Linked DNA regions of Homo sapiens: all the other regions are linked to region 3. The links are contacts of gene promoters, found by promoter capture Hi-C in blood cells and fetal thymus (Javierre and others, 2016). All regions are on one chromosome and are shown on one strand. The core of a region is centred on a gene start or on the middle of the fragment in contact, and the rest is flanking DNA. Distances in the headings are between cores, read along the strand shown. Region 1 has its middle 4.1 kb from the start of ICAM2. Region 2 holds the start of PRR29 (proline rich 29). Region 3 holds the start of CD79B (CD79b molecule). Region 4 overlaps ERN1 (endoplasmic reticulum to nucleus signaling 1).

What was found. The method cuts DNA at HindIII sites, captures the fragments that hold promoters and counts their contacts. A CHiCAGO score of 5 or more calls a contact.
Region 1: a contact is called between a fragment that was not itself captured here and the fragment with the promoter of CD79B in region 3, in 13 of 17 cell types (total B cells, naive B cells, total CD8 T cells and 10 more). The highest score is 12.7, in total B cells.
Region 2: a contact is called between the fragment with the promoter of PRR29 here and the fragment with the promoter of CD79B in region 3, in 17 of 17 cell types (naive CD8 T cells, endothelial precursors, total CD8 T cells and 14 more). The highest score is 24.7, in naive CD8 T cells.
Region 4: a fragment that was not itself captured here is called in contact with the fragment with the promoter of CD79B in region 3 in 3 of 17 cell types (total CD8 T cells, naive CD4 T cells and naive CD8 T cells); the score reaches 6.8 in total CD8 T cells.

What each region holds. Positions count from the first base shown.
Region 1 is chr17:64,023,343-64,026,123 of GRCh38, reverse strand. No RefSeq gene overlaps it. Among named protein-coding and RNA genes, the nearest start is that of ICAM2, 4.1 kb to the right of the region's middle. RefSeq lists an enhancer at 327-376 and cis regulatory regions at 1-419, 1,521-1,958. The HindIII fragment of the contact is 2,924 bases long and covers 1-2,781 here.
Region 2 is chr17:63,996,965-63,999,664 of GRCh38, reverse strand. It overlaps PRR29 (proline rich 29), which reads right to left and starts at 1,314. Exons shown (of 6, transcript NM_001164257.2): 1 at 1,241-1,314; 2 at 883-958; 3 at 591-697. The coding sequence starts at 1,300. It overlaps PRR29-AS1 (PRR29 antisense RNA 1), which reads left to right. Exons shown (of 3, transcript NR_126169.1): 1 at 1-1,340; 2 at 1,743-1,900; 3 at 2,402-2,700. RefSeq lists an enhancer at 151-1,128 and a silencer at 1,382-1,431. The HindIII fragment of the contact is 13,369 bases long and covers 1-2,700 here.
Region 3 is chr17:63,930,718-63,933,624 of GRCh38, reverse strand. It overlaps CD79B (CD79b molecule), which reads left to right and starts at 1,294. Exons shown (of 6, transcript NM_000626.4): 1 at 1,294-1,430; 2 at 2,240-2,290. The coding sequence starts at 1,364. RefSeq lists enhancers at 1-43, 618-667, 678-787, 644-1,314, 1,288-1,677 and 2 more and a silencer at 2,375-2,444. The HindIII fragment of the contact is 15,563 bases long and covers 1-2,907 here.
Region 4 is chr17:64,043,632-64,046,476 of GRCh38, reverse strand. It overlaps ERN1 (endoplasmic reticulum to nucleus signaling 1), which reads left to right. Exons shown (of 22, transcript NM_001433.5): 20 at 995-1,118; 21 at 1,550-1,617; 22 at 2,277-2,845. The coding sequence ends at 2,489. Among named protein-coding and RNA genes, the nearest start is that of ICAM2, 24 kb to the right of the region's middle. The HindIII fragment of the contact is 4,060 bases long and covers 1-2,845 here.

The sequences.
Region 1 (2,781 bases), core at 102-2,601, 92 kb before region 3:
CATCTACATAGACCGCCCTCCTTATAAACAGTCTCTCAGGGGATCCTAGCCCATTCCAAATCTACCTGTGATTGCAGAATCGCAAGGAATGTGATTTACCGCAGATCGCGGGGCGTCGTGTCTTTTAGGGGACCTGCTCACTTTGGCCACTAGGTGGCGGGCAGTGCAGCCCCTGCTCCTGTCGACCCTGAGCGTTCAGCGTTTCCGCCGCCTCCGCCCCACTCCGTAGGGGGAGCTGATGAGATGAGGTTGAGGTCCAGGAAGACGTCAAGGGCTTGGTTTTGTAAACAACTCCATTCCTCGCTCGCTGATAAGTTTTCTAAGTGATGCATATTCACAACCTTGTCCCATCCAAGGACCCAAGAATTAACACATTACATAATATGGACAGCCCCCTCCTGTCCAACGGGCATGATTTTGGGGTCTGATATTCTGTGGATCTGTGCAATAGTCAACACACGTGCTGGGATGTCCTTGGGCACAGCCTACAAGGACACAGATAGGTGCACGTCCGGGCACCAACTCACAATAACCACAAACTTTGTTGAGTGCTTCCGTGTACCAGGCTATCAGCCAGCGTTTTACAAATCATCACACTTTCCTCTCAGAAGCCCTTGAGGGGGGGTCTGAAGGGGGTGAGAGGGGCTCCCTAGTATGAAAGCTCAGACGTTGGGTCCCAACTGCCTGGATTGGAATCTTGGTTCAGCCTCTTGCTGGCTGTGTGCCAGCTACTGCCCGCCATCTACTGTACCATGTCTCACGTTCTTCATCTGTAAGAGGCATAACAACAGTATCGAGTCATAGGCTTGTTATGAGGATGAAATGTGATGATACTTACTGTGGAGTGCTTAGAACAGTGTGTGGCATATGTAGTAAGCATGTCACAAACGTTGGCTATTATTATTATCCCATTTTGCAGATAAGCAAACTGAAGGTCAGAGAGGTTACACAACTTGCTCAAGGTCACACAGCCTTATAATTCCACTCTGCCAGACTGAGCTCACAGTCTCTGTTAGTCAGTCTATAGGCTGGTGACACCTCTAGTTTCTACTTGTGGTTTTGATTAGCTGGACGCTATGTGAATTGAGAACACTTTCGTATTCCGCTGAAACAGTGTGGTCCTCATTTCTAAGAAGTTCCCGGGTGATACTGATGCCAGCAGCAGCGTCATTACCTGGGAACCTGTTAGAAATGCAAAAAATTCTCAGGCCTCCCTCCAGACCTACTACTCAGGAACTCTAGGGATGGGGCCCGGTGGGCTGTTGCGGCAAGCCCCCCAGTGATCCTGACACACGTTCAAGTTTGAAACCCCTTGCTATAAAATATGTGTCTCCTAAAACCAAGCTGCTAGCTTACATTCAATAAACATTTACCTAGCATGATCTTGGCAGTTCAAAGAGGAATGTGCCAGAAACCAAGCAAAGAAGAAAAAGAAATAAATGGAAATGGAAAGTGATCTGCTCAGAGGCCACAAAGTTGAGGGAGGAGGTTTCCAGAGTGGGATTTGGCCCAAATGTTGCCTGAGGAAGTACGTAAAGGGGTCTCAACTCTGGCTACACAACAGAACAGCAGGACTGTGTGTGCAGCTCACGAAGTGGGTACACAGGGTAATCTGCAAGTTCTGGGTGGATCTAGCACCTGGATTGTTAAAACTTGCATAGATGGCCAGCGTTCATACTTTCTGCTTGTTTGTACAAAGTCATTCTTCTAGAGTAATTGTTGTAAAATTGCTAGGCAAGGTGGCAGGTCTGATAAGATTTGATGACGTAATGGCTCTTAGTCGCTAATAAGAGGCTTTTGTGGAGTGGCGTGTCACAGCCAGCGAAGGCTCAGCTCTGTGATCTTCGCCTGCCTCACTTGGGGGACCAGAAGGCAGCTTGTCTTGGAACTGCCTCATTCACAGAAGACCCCATTGAGTACAGAAACTGCACATCAAAGGGAGGAGTAAGGAAAACAAGATGGTGAATCCTCAAAAATTAAACAAAATTACCTTTTTAATTTTTTTTTTTTGTAGAAACGGGGTCTCACTTTGTCACCCAGACTGGTCTTGAAGTCCTAGGCTCAAGCAATTCTCCCATCTCAGCCTCCCAAAGTGCTGGATTTACAGGTGTGAGCCACTCACCTCAGCCAGAATTACCACTGAAAAAAAGAAAAAAGGTTAAGATGGTAAATTTTGTTGTGTATATTTTACCAGTATGATCCAGCATTTCCACTTCTGGGTACATGCCCCAGAGAATTGAAAGCAGAGTCTCGATCAGGTATTTGTACAACCCTGTTGATAGCAGCACTATTCACAATAGCCAAAGGTGGAAGCAACACAGGTGTCCCTCAATATATGAATGGATGAACAGAATGCAGCACACACGCACAATAAAATATTACTCAGCCTTCAAAAGGAAGGCAGTTCTGGCCAGGCACAGTGGCTCACTCCTGTAATCCCAGCACTTTGGAAGGCCGAGGCAGGCAGATCACTTGAGGTCAAGAGTTCAAGACCAGCCTGGCCAATATGGTGAAACCCCGTCTCTACTAAAAATACAAAAATTAGGTGGACATGGTGGCAGATGCCTGTAATCCCATCTACTCAGGAGGTTGAGGCAGGAGAATCCCTTGAACCTGGGAGGCAGAGGTTGCAGTGAGCTGAGATCACACCATCACTGTCCTCCAGCCTGGGCGATAGAGCAAGACTCTGTCTCAAAAAGAAAGGAAAAAAAAAGGATAAAAAAAAGAAAGAGCCAGAAGGTGAGGTACCATGATGCCAACCTTGGACCAATCATTTGACCA
Region 2 (2,700 bases), core at 65-2,564, 66 kb before region 3:
TCTCCTGACTCTGCCCCTGCCAGCCTGGATGGGGGACACACCCTTCGCCTCCTCCAAGGGTCAAAATCCTACCTGGCTTTCAAGGGCTGGTTCTAAGATCCTCTGCTCCTCCAAGGAGCCTGTCCCCATCCCCCAACCCTATGTGCACTTGTGCTTTGTACCTCTCCATGTGCCATCACAGCCAACCTGGCTTTGTATCCCTAACCATTCATTTATTCATTCACTCGTTCAACAAATATCAGCTGAGCCCCTACACGGTGTCAGGCACCAGGCCAGACGCTCATGATGCATGGGGCAGGGTTACCAGGGTGCCTACCTTCCTGGAGCCTTAAGTCCAGTGGGGGAGGCACTACAGGGAAACCTCCTTGAAAACAAGACCTCGGTGGTCTGGACTTTGGGGGGTCTCTTCCCCGCCCCAACCTTTCATGGAGGCTGAAACATGACAGATGCCAAACAGCCCCAGCCAGAGAGACGGGCTGGCTTCCTGCTCCTCTGTCTCCCAGTTCTTTTCCCCCCTGAACAGGAACCCCAGGTGGATCCGCATCCCTGGACCCACAGGTGAGCGACCCCGGCGGCCCACCCACACGCACCTGAGGGCAGGGCGAGGCAGGCCGGGGCTGCAGCGCTCCAGCCACCAGGCGACTCAGCAGCAGCTGGTGCATCTGCGCGTTCTGCAGCATCATCAGTTCCAGCAGGTCTAGGAAGCGGGGTTCAGCAAGCCCACGCCGGGCCTCCGAGTCCCCCTCCCCCTGACACCCCTGTCCCGGGGGTGAAGAATGGGTTGGCGGGTTGTGCTGCGGGGACTCCCAGAGGATGTGCGAGGCAGAAGAGGGTGAGTGGTGGTGATGGTGGGGGTGGGGTGGGGGGACCCGGGAGTCTCACCTTCCTTCACGCGGCCTGGCTGCGGGGGCGCAGGTGGGACGGCCCACGAGAGGGGCTGCAGGAAGGTGACCCAGGGCTGGGGGTGTGCGCGGAGTCAGCCAGGTGGGGTGGGGGGAATGGATGGGGACACGTCGCGAGCCCCAACCCCCCCGGCCAGTGGCCTCCCTAACCCCGCAGGGGCCAGGTTCTCTCCTCCCCGCCCCGCGGCCTCCCTGCTCCCTGCCACGCCTCTTCCTCTCGGTTTGGGGCTGTCTCTCCTCGTCCCCCACCCCTCCAGGATCTGGCCCCTCCAGGGACAGCTCCCCACTCTGCCGTCTCCCAAGCTAAGGCAGGATCTGCTCCCGGGCTCAGCCCTCACCGTCGGGACTGCGCTCTGCGGTGGGGAGCGACCCCAGCTTCCGCCCGCCCCAGAGGCCATGGCTGGCGCCGGTTGCCTTGGCGACGCCGAGGACGCCAAGGTCTCTTCCCACGCATGCGCGGAGCCCGCCCGTGCTCCTGGGTCTTCCATCTCCCTGCTCCCTCCTGTCTCCTCCTCCGCGGACTTGGGGTCCCCAGGAGCCCTCCCCCGCCACCAGGAGGCCAGTCTCCTCCCCGGCATGTCCACCTCCCGCCGCGCTGCTCGGGGCTCCCCTCCCCTCCCCTTGCTGGTTCCCAGAACTGGGCCTGGGTTAGTGCGGGGAAGGGGGGTGTGTTTGTTGAGTGAATAAGCGAGTGACTGGGGAGGCTTGGTTTCGGGGTCCCAGAGCCCGATTGACTCAGCTGAAAAGTTCAGGAGAAACAGAGACTTTTGCAGGAGCAGGCTGGGGGCTAGGGCAGACGAGTGAGGAGGACAAAGGGTCTGTTCCCTGTCACTCTGACAGAGAGAGGGGCTTCCTGCCAGGAAAGAGTGGTTTCTGGAGCAGACCAAGGAAGGAAACACCGCCCGAATTCACGGAAGAGGCTGAGGACTCTGGCTGGAAACACGTGGCCGGCTTCTCGCCTCTCTCCTTGCGGCTATTTGCCCTGTTTCCTGGCCAAGGTGAGCCACTGCTCCTCAGACGAGGAAAATCGTGGTGACTTCAGCACCCGCGTCCCCAGTACTGTCTCCCGTACTGGAAAAGTTACCAAAGCACGCGTTCTTTTGACAGGAAGTTAGCAAGGTCTTCCTTGCTTAAGAACAGGTGAAGGGGGAGATCTATTTCTGCAGCTGTGACCATCCTAAGATAGGCCCCCGGCAGCAGTCAAGGAAAATCCAGACAGGAAGCTGGGCTTAGCACCCCGAGTAGCCCTTCCCCCACTCTCCATGTCAGCTCCCCTTCCTGCCAGTCCTGGAGTAAGAACCAGAAAGACCATTCCCACCTCCTCCTTTGCTCCGTAGTACCTGTCTCTAGGGGAGCAGGCTTGTGGGCATTACTTTACTGTCCCCATGGGTCTTATGGCTTCAACAGCCATTAACAAGCTGAGATCCAGGCACTGGGGTCACAGCCCCCCAGTGAGTAGAACACAGAGATGCCTCTCTCCATCTCCATTCTCATTCCAGGTAGAAAGAGAACAAGCCATTTTGCTCATCATCAACAAACCTTGACCAAGGAAGTGTCTGCGTGTGCAATGTGCCATCTGAACCCTGGAGGCATAAGCAGTATGGTCACTTGTCCCAGCATTGTTGGGAAGTGAAAATGTATCCATGGAAAGAGAGCAGAAAGATAAGACTACGCCCCGGGGATAATGAAAAAGAGAGGACTTGACCGCTGAGGGATGGAGTTCCAAGGAAGTCAGTCCTTGATGGGGCCAAGCAGCAGGGGAAGACGGGCGCTATCAGGCTGGGGACAGAGCCCAAGC
Region 3 (2,907 bases), core at 45-2,544:
GAGTGGCCCCCACCTTATCAGGTCCGAGGCCTAGGCCAAGATCTAAAGAGGGACCACCCAGACCCTCTGCCTTCCAACCATGGCATGGGAGGTGGTTCTGCTTCTCCCTAAATCCAGACAGACCTGCCCCAGCACAGACTGGAAAACGGAGGGTTGTGAGGAGAGTGAGAGGTGGACAGAGGGCACCGACGATTTAGCATCTCTTCCTCTCCTGGGGGTCGAGGATGAGAGACAAAAAAGAAGCTGCCAGGAAACATAAAATTCAGAGGGCTCAGCTGCAGGGCTGAGGTCTGCAAGCATGCTGTGTACACTTGTGCATGTTGTGCCCTGCACAAGGGCATCTCTGAAGGGGCTGCATTGGACCCAGGGGCAGGGGCGCAAAGGTGAGTTTATATCAGTTCCTGAGCACTGTGGCTCCATCCAGCACTCTGAGGACAGGCAGGATACAGCTGGAGGACCTGAGGGCTCCCCCACACCAGCTCCTGTTCCCTGCCCAAGACCCCCTGGACCTGCAGACAACAATTCAACGCACTCAGAGTCCCACAGTTAAGAACTCCCTGAAGAAGCCCCCAGTGGCTGCGTGGTGGATTTTCGCAAAGCTGTCTCCACCTACATCCACCCTGTTTGGCAGCCCCTACATACTCTTTCACAGCATGAGGAAGGGAGGCCTCTCACCAAGACCTGGACTGAATCTTCTCCCAGTGGCTGCCACACTTGACCTGCTCTTGCTCCAGAACCTCTGTGGCTCCCATCCTCCACAGGGTCAACTTCCAACATGGCTGCCTGCACTCCAGCCAAGAGGCTCTGCTCTGGGCCCCTCCAGATGCCTGACCTGGGTCTGTGGCTGCCCTGTCCTTCTTCAGTGCTCCTCTTCCCGCTGGGTGAGGAATAGTTCAGGACAGAGGAGCTAAGTTCAGGTTCATTCATAGGACAGGTGCCTATTTCGCTCACGGCCCAGGAATAGAGACTTGCCGGGCTCGGCCCTTCGGGGAGTTGGCAGACGGCAGAGGGGAGGCTGGCTGGCCCAGGGGATGACCACCGGTGGGGTAAGCACAGACAGAGGGGAGCACAGGCTTCCCCCAGAAGACTGAGAGGCCCCCCAGAGGCATCCACAGAGGACCCCAGCTGTGCTGCCCAAGCTGGGCGACCGCCAAACCTTAGCGGCCCAGCTGACAAAAGCCTGCCCTCCCCCAGGGTCCCCGGAGAGCTGGTGCCTCCCCTGGGTCCCAATTTGCATGGCAGGAAGGGGCCTGGTGAGGAAGAGGCGGGGAGGGGACAGGCTGCAGCCGGTGCAGTTACACGTTTTCCTCCAAGGAGCCTCGGACGTTGTCACGGGTTTGGGGTCGGGGACAGAGCGGTGACCATGGCCAGGCTGGCGTTGTCTCCTGTGCCCAGCCACTGGATGGTGGCGTTGCTGCTGCTGCTCTCAGGTACAGAACCCACGACGAGGCCTGTGGGGTTTGCTCTCATCTCCAGCTGTCTGGGCCCTGCGGCTCTGCCTCCTGCTTGCTCCACCCTCCTCCTCTGTCTCTCACTCTTTACCGCCTGTCTCCCTCTCATGGCCCTGGGGCCTGGGTCTGTGGGTGTCAGCTGCACGTGGTGATGGGCTCAGGAGCCTGTGGCCCCAGTTCCTCTCCTGCCTGGAGAGCATCAGGCTGAGCTGGGCATGAGGAGCAAACCAGAGTTAGCAACCAGGACCGTGGAAGAACTAGGCTCAGGAGGAAGAGAGGCTGAGGGCGGTGCCTGGGGGTCGGGAGGGGAGAGGCTGTCCCAACCGGACCCTGGAAGATGCAAGATCCAAATGTGGTCCCCTCCTCTGGGAGGTGAAAGATCCTCCGGGCTGTGACTTTCTTCCTGTCTCTCTTTAAAAAAAAAAAAAAAAAGAGAGACAGGGTGTCCCTATGTTGCCCAGGCTGGTCTCAAACTCCTGGACCCAAGCGATCCTCCTGTCTTGGCCTCTCAAAATACTGAGATTTCCCTGTCCCTCCTGTCTCATTCAGATGCCTGCTCAAAGCCACCATGAGGGTCAAAGGCAGAAAGGGGGCTGGGGGCAGGGCTTCCGGTACCCCCACCCCATATCTGTCTCCCAAGTACTGGGGGCAGGGAGGACCGAGGGGTCTTGAAGCTGCTGTCATGGAAGGAGGAAGTAGCTCCGGGAACATAGAGGGCATGCAGGGGTGGGGCAGCCCAGGCCAGAGGAGGCCCTGACTGGCCCCGCCCACTTCCTCCCACCCAGCAGCTGAGCCAGTACCAGCAGCCAGATCGGAGGACCGGTACCGGAATCCCAAAGGTCAGTAGCCTCGCCTGCCGCTTCTGAGGGCAAGTTGTGTGCGACTATGTCCTGTGTCCGACTATGGTCCCTGTCCTGGGGGCGGTCCGCCTTCCCACCCTTGCCTGATCTCCCCATCCAGGATTCCCATCCCCAGGCCTCCTTAGGATCTCCTCTGAGCCCCACCCCCAGCCCACTGTCATCCTCATCAGACACATGCCCTCCAGCCTTGGCCACTGAAGGGCTGGGCTAAACTCTGGGTCATAGCAAGGGAGCCTGGGGGTTCCTCTAGGACTCAGGCCCGGGCCTGTCTAGCTGGGAATCTGGCTGAGTCTCGGGTGAGCCCTCCAGTGCAGGGTCACTATGTGAGGGGCTCAGGGATTCCCGGGCAGTGCTCACTAAGAACAAGGCAGTCGAAGCTGGAAAGAGGGTTCTGGAACAAGAAGTGGACCCAGTCCCTGCAGGAGGGAAGAGGGGGATGATAGAGGGAAGTCATGCAGGGAGGGGGTCGACTGAGGAAGGTCTCAGTTGACAGACTAGGAATTTGGCCTTTATCCCTGGAGGAACGGGGGAGACTGAGGATTTCAAGCCTGTGCAGGGCAGCCCAGTGAAAGGAGGGGCCAGGCCTGTGGGCCTCC
Region 4 (2,845 bases), core at 321-2,820, 110 kb before region 3:
CTAACCAGGTCATTTTGATCGCAAAATATAGAACAGGAATAAAACCCACACAAAGGGACCTTCACCCACCAAGGGACAGGATTTAAATGCTTAGTATCTCCAGGTCATATGTCTCTCGAACACACCTGGCTTCCACTCAGGTCATTTAGCCGTAACAGCTTTGCAGCTCAGACACGTGTGTTCCCAGTGTACCCAAGTTGACAATCTAACCTCTCCACAGCTTCTCTCTGACAATTGTAAATTAGGAGTTCAGCCAGTCTGGCTTCATCTTCATCATAGAAAAGGCTGCTCTGAGAAAAGGGTCTCCTAAGGCTACTTAACATTGATGTAGACAGGGCTCACCACTCCCTGTGTCCTCAGCTGTCGACCTGTCTTACTGGTGGGACTTCAAGAGGCCATACTTGGGTGCTTCCTGACCCTCTCCTTATTACCAAAGTCAAATGCAGAGCAAGGTTTGAATCCCAACAGGAGCCTCTGGAGCCCATACTCTTGCCACCAAGTTTCCTCTTTGAGAAGAAGGCCCAGCTTCACAGGTCTTTTCTACTGGTGGAGGGAAGAGTGGCGACCCTCCACCAGTTATGGGCTTGAGCATACCCTGTTTCAGTGAGTAGACAAAGCACGGGATGCACATCAAATCTGAGCTTTCCTTTTCTTTTTGGTTTTGGTTCATTGGATATAGATTGCACTTGCGGCTCCGTACACATGGCGTGTGTGTGCACATGTGAAATTCAGGGTATGCGTTCGTGGTCTATATGCAGGTGTACTCTGTGACACCTCTCTGACATGGGAGAAGCTCTCTGTGGGCCTGTGCTTCGTGAGGAACAGAGCAGCTCACAGGGAAAGTCATGGATGAGGGAGGGAGGGGGCAGGGTGCCTGCTGCCCAGCTCTGGGGCAGGCTTATGTGTCAGTGATGATCTGTTACTGAGTCCCAGTCGCACAGCTCTCAGCATCTCCAGCACTGACCATCATCTGCTGCCCTTGTTTCTCTCACAGGACGTGAGCGACAGAATAGAAAAGGAATCCCTGGATGGCCCGATCGTGAAGCAGTTAGAGAGAGGCGGGAGAGCCGTGGTGAAGATGGACTGGCGGGAGAACATCACTGTCCCCCTCCAGACAGGTGATCATGCTGCAGCGTGTGAGAGGGCAGGTTGCAAAAGTCGCTGCCGCCTTTCCAAAAAGTAAACGTGGAAATGGCCGCTCCAGGCTGTTCAGGCCCCACATCCCACCTGTCAGGTTTGAGACTTTCTTGGGTGTGTCCTCTGTGGTTTGGTTACACTGATGTGTGTTTCATTTTTGTTCCCTAGAGTGACAGGTGAGTGATGGTGTCGTGCTCTAGGTGGTCATTTCTGACCTGGGTGTGATCACCAGGTGGGGTTCAGGGGGATACCACCCTTGGGTTGGATGGGAGGATCTGCTCCCATGCCTAGGTGTGGAGTGACCTCACCTTTCAGTCCAACTCCCTAATCCCAGGACCCCATGAATTGTTTTCTTTTAAAATGTATTAGTTTTAAATTTGATTACCCATTGCTTCCCTCAATGTTTTTCTAGACCTGCGTAAATTCAGGACCTATAAAGGTGGTTCTGTCAGAGATCTCCTCCGAGCCATGAGAAATAAGGTAAGCAGTTTGTAAATGCTGGGGAGGAGACCCAGTGGCCATGACATGGACACCTTCCTCCTTTCATCCATTCTTTATAAATCTTTTATCTGTACTGGCATTCTCATCTCTCAGGAGCTAGGCGGCTTCAGCTGGACTTGGCAAACTGCAGGCTGTTGCCTCTCTTACGCTGATTTTCCCTTCAGGGACGTAGGTGCAGGTGAAGCTCCGGGAAGCAGTGCTCTGCGGCCCATGTCCCTCATGGTCTCTGGTCGCTGACTTTTGTGGGGCCCTCTCCCTGTCTGATGCAGCCACTGTGTGTAAACATGTATAAACATACCTCAAATGCGGGGACCCCACTGGGACGGACACTCCAATCTCAGGCGACTTTACTCCTCCTGAGGTGGCCAGGAGTGTCTCCAGGTCCTGACTGTCACAGAAGGCCTGAGCACCCCCTGGACTGGCTGGGCCTTGCTCACTTCAAGGCCTCCTCCTGAGTGAGGGTAGCAGGCGAGATGACGGGGCTGGATTCTTGGATACATAAGCCTTTTTTCTTTTTCTTTACCAAAAACCAACACTCACATTCTGTCTCTTCCTTGCATGATGAAAGGGTGTTTTGCCAACATTTCCCGAGCTTTCTAACCCCTTTCTAATCTCCCGAGCTTTCTAACTCTTTGCAGAAGCACCACTACCGGGAGCTGCCTGCAGAGGTGCGGGAGACGCTGGGGTCCCTCCCCGACGACTTCGTGTGCTACTTCACATCTCGCTTCCCCCACCTCCTCGCACACACCTACCGGGCCATGGAGCTGTGCAGCCACGAGAGACTCTTCCAGCCCTACTACTTCCACGAGCCCCCAGAGCCCCAGCCCCCAGTGACTCCAGACGCCCTCTGAGCGAGGGCGGCCCCTCTGTTCTGGTGGCCCCAGCTGTGACTGAGGGCCTGGTCACCACAATTAGAGCTTGATGCCTCCCGGCTTTGCAGGGAGACCAGGCTTCCCAAACCAAGTGCCTTGAGCTGCCTGCTCTGCAGCCCACAGAGGACAGTGCTGACCCCAGGAAGTGGGAGAAGTGGCCCCTCGTGACCTACAGGGAACTGGGAAGATGCTGGCCCCAAAAGCCTTACGGTCATGATGTCTGCAAAGGAGGGCCTCAGAGACAGCGCGAGTAGCACCCCCAGCCATCTACTGGATAAACTTGCTTCAGACTTTTTAAATTCCTGCTTAATGTCAGTCTACAGGCCTTTCAGGAA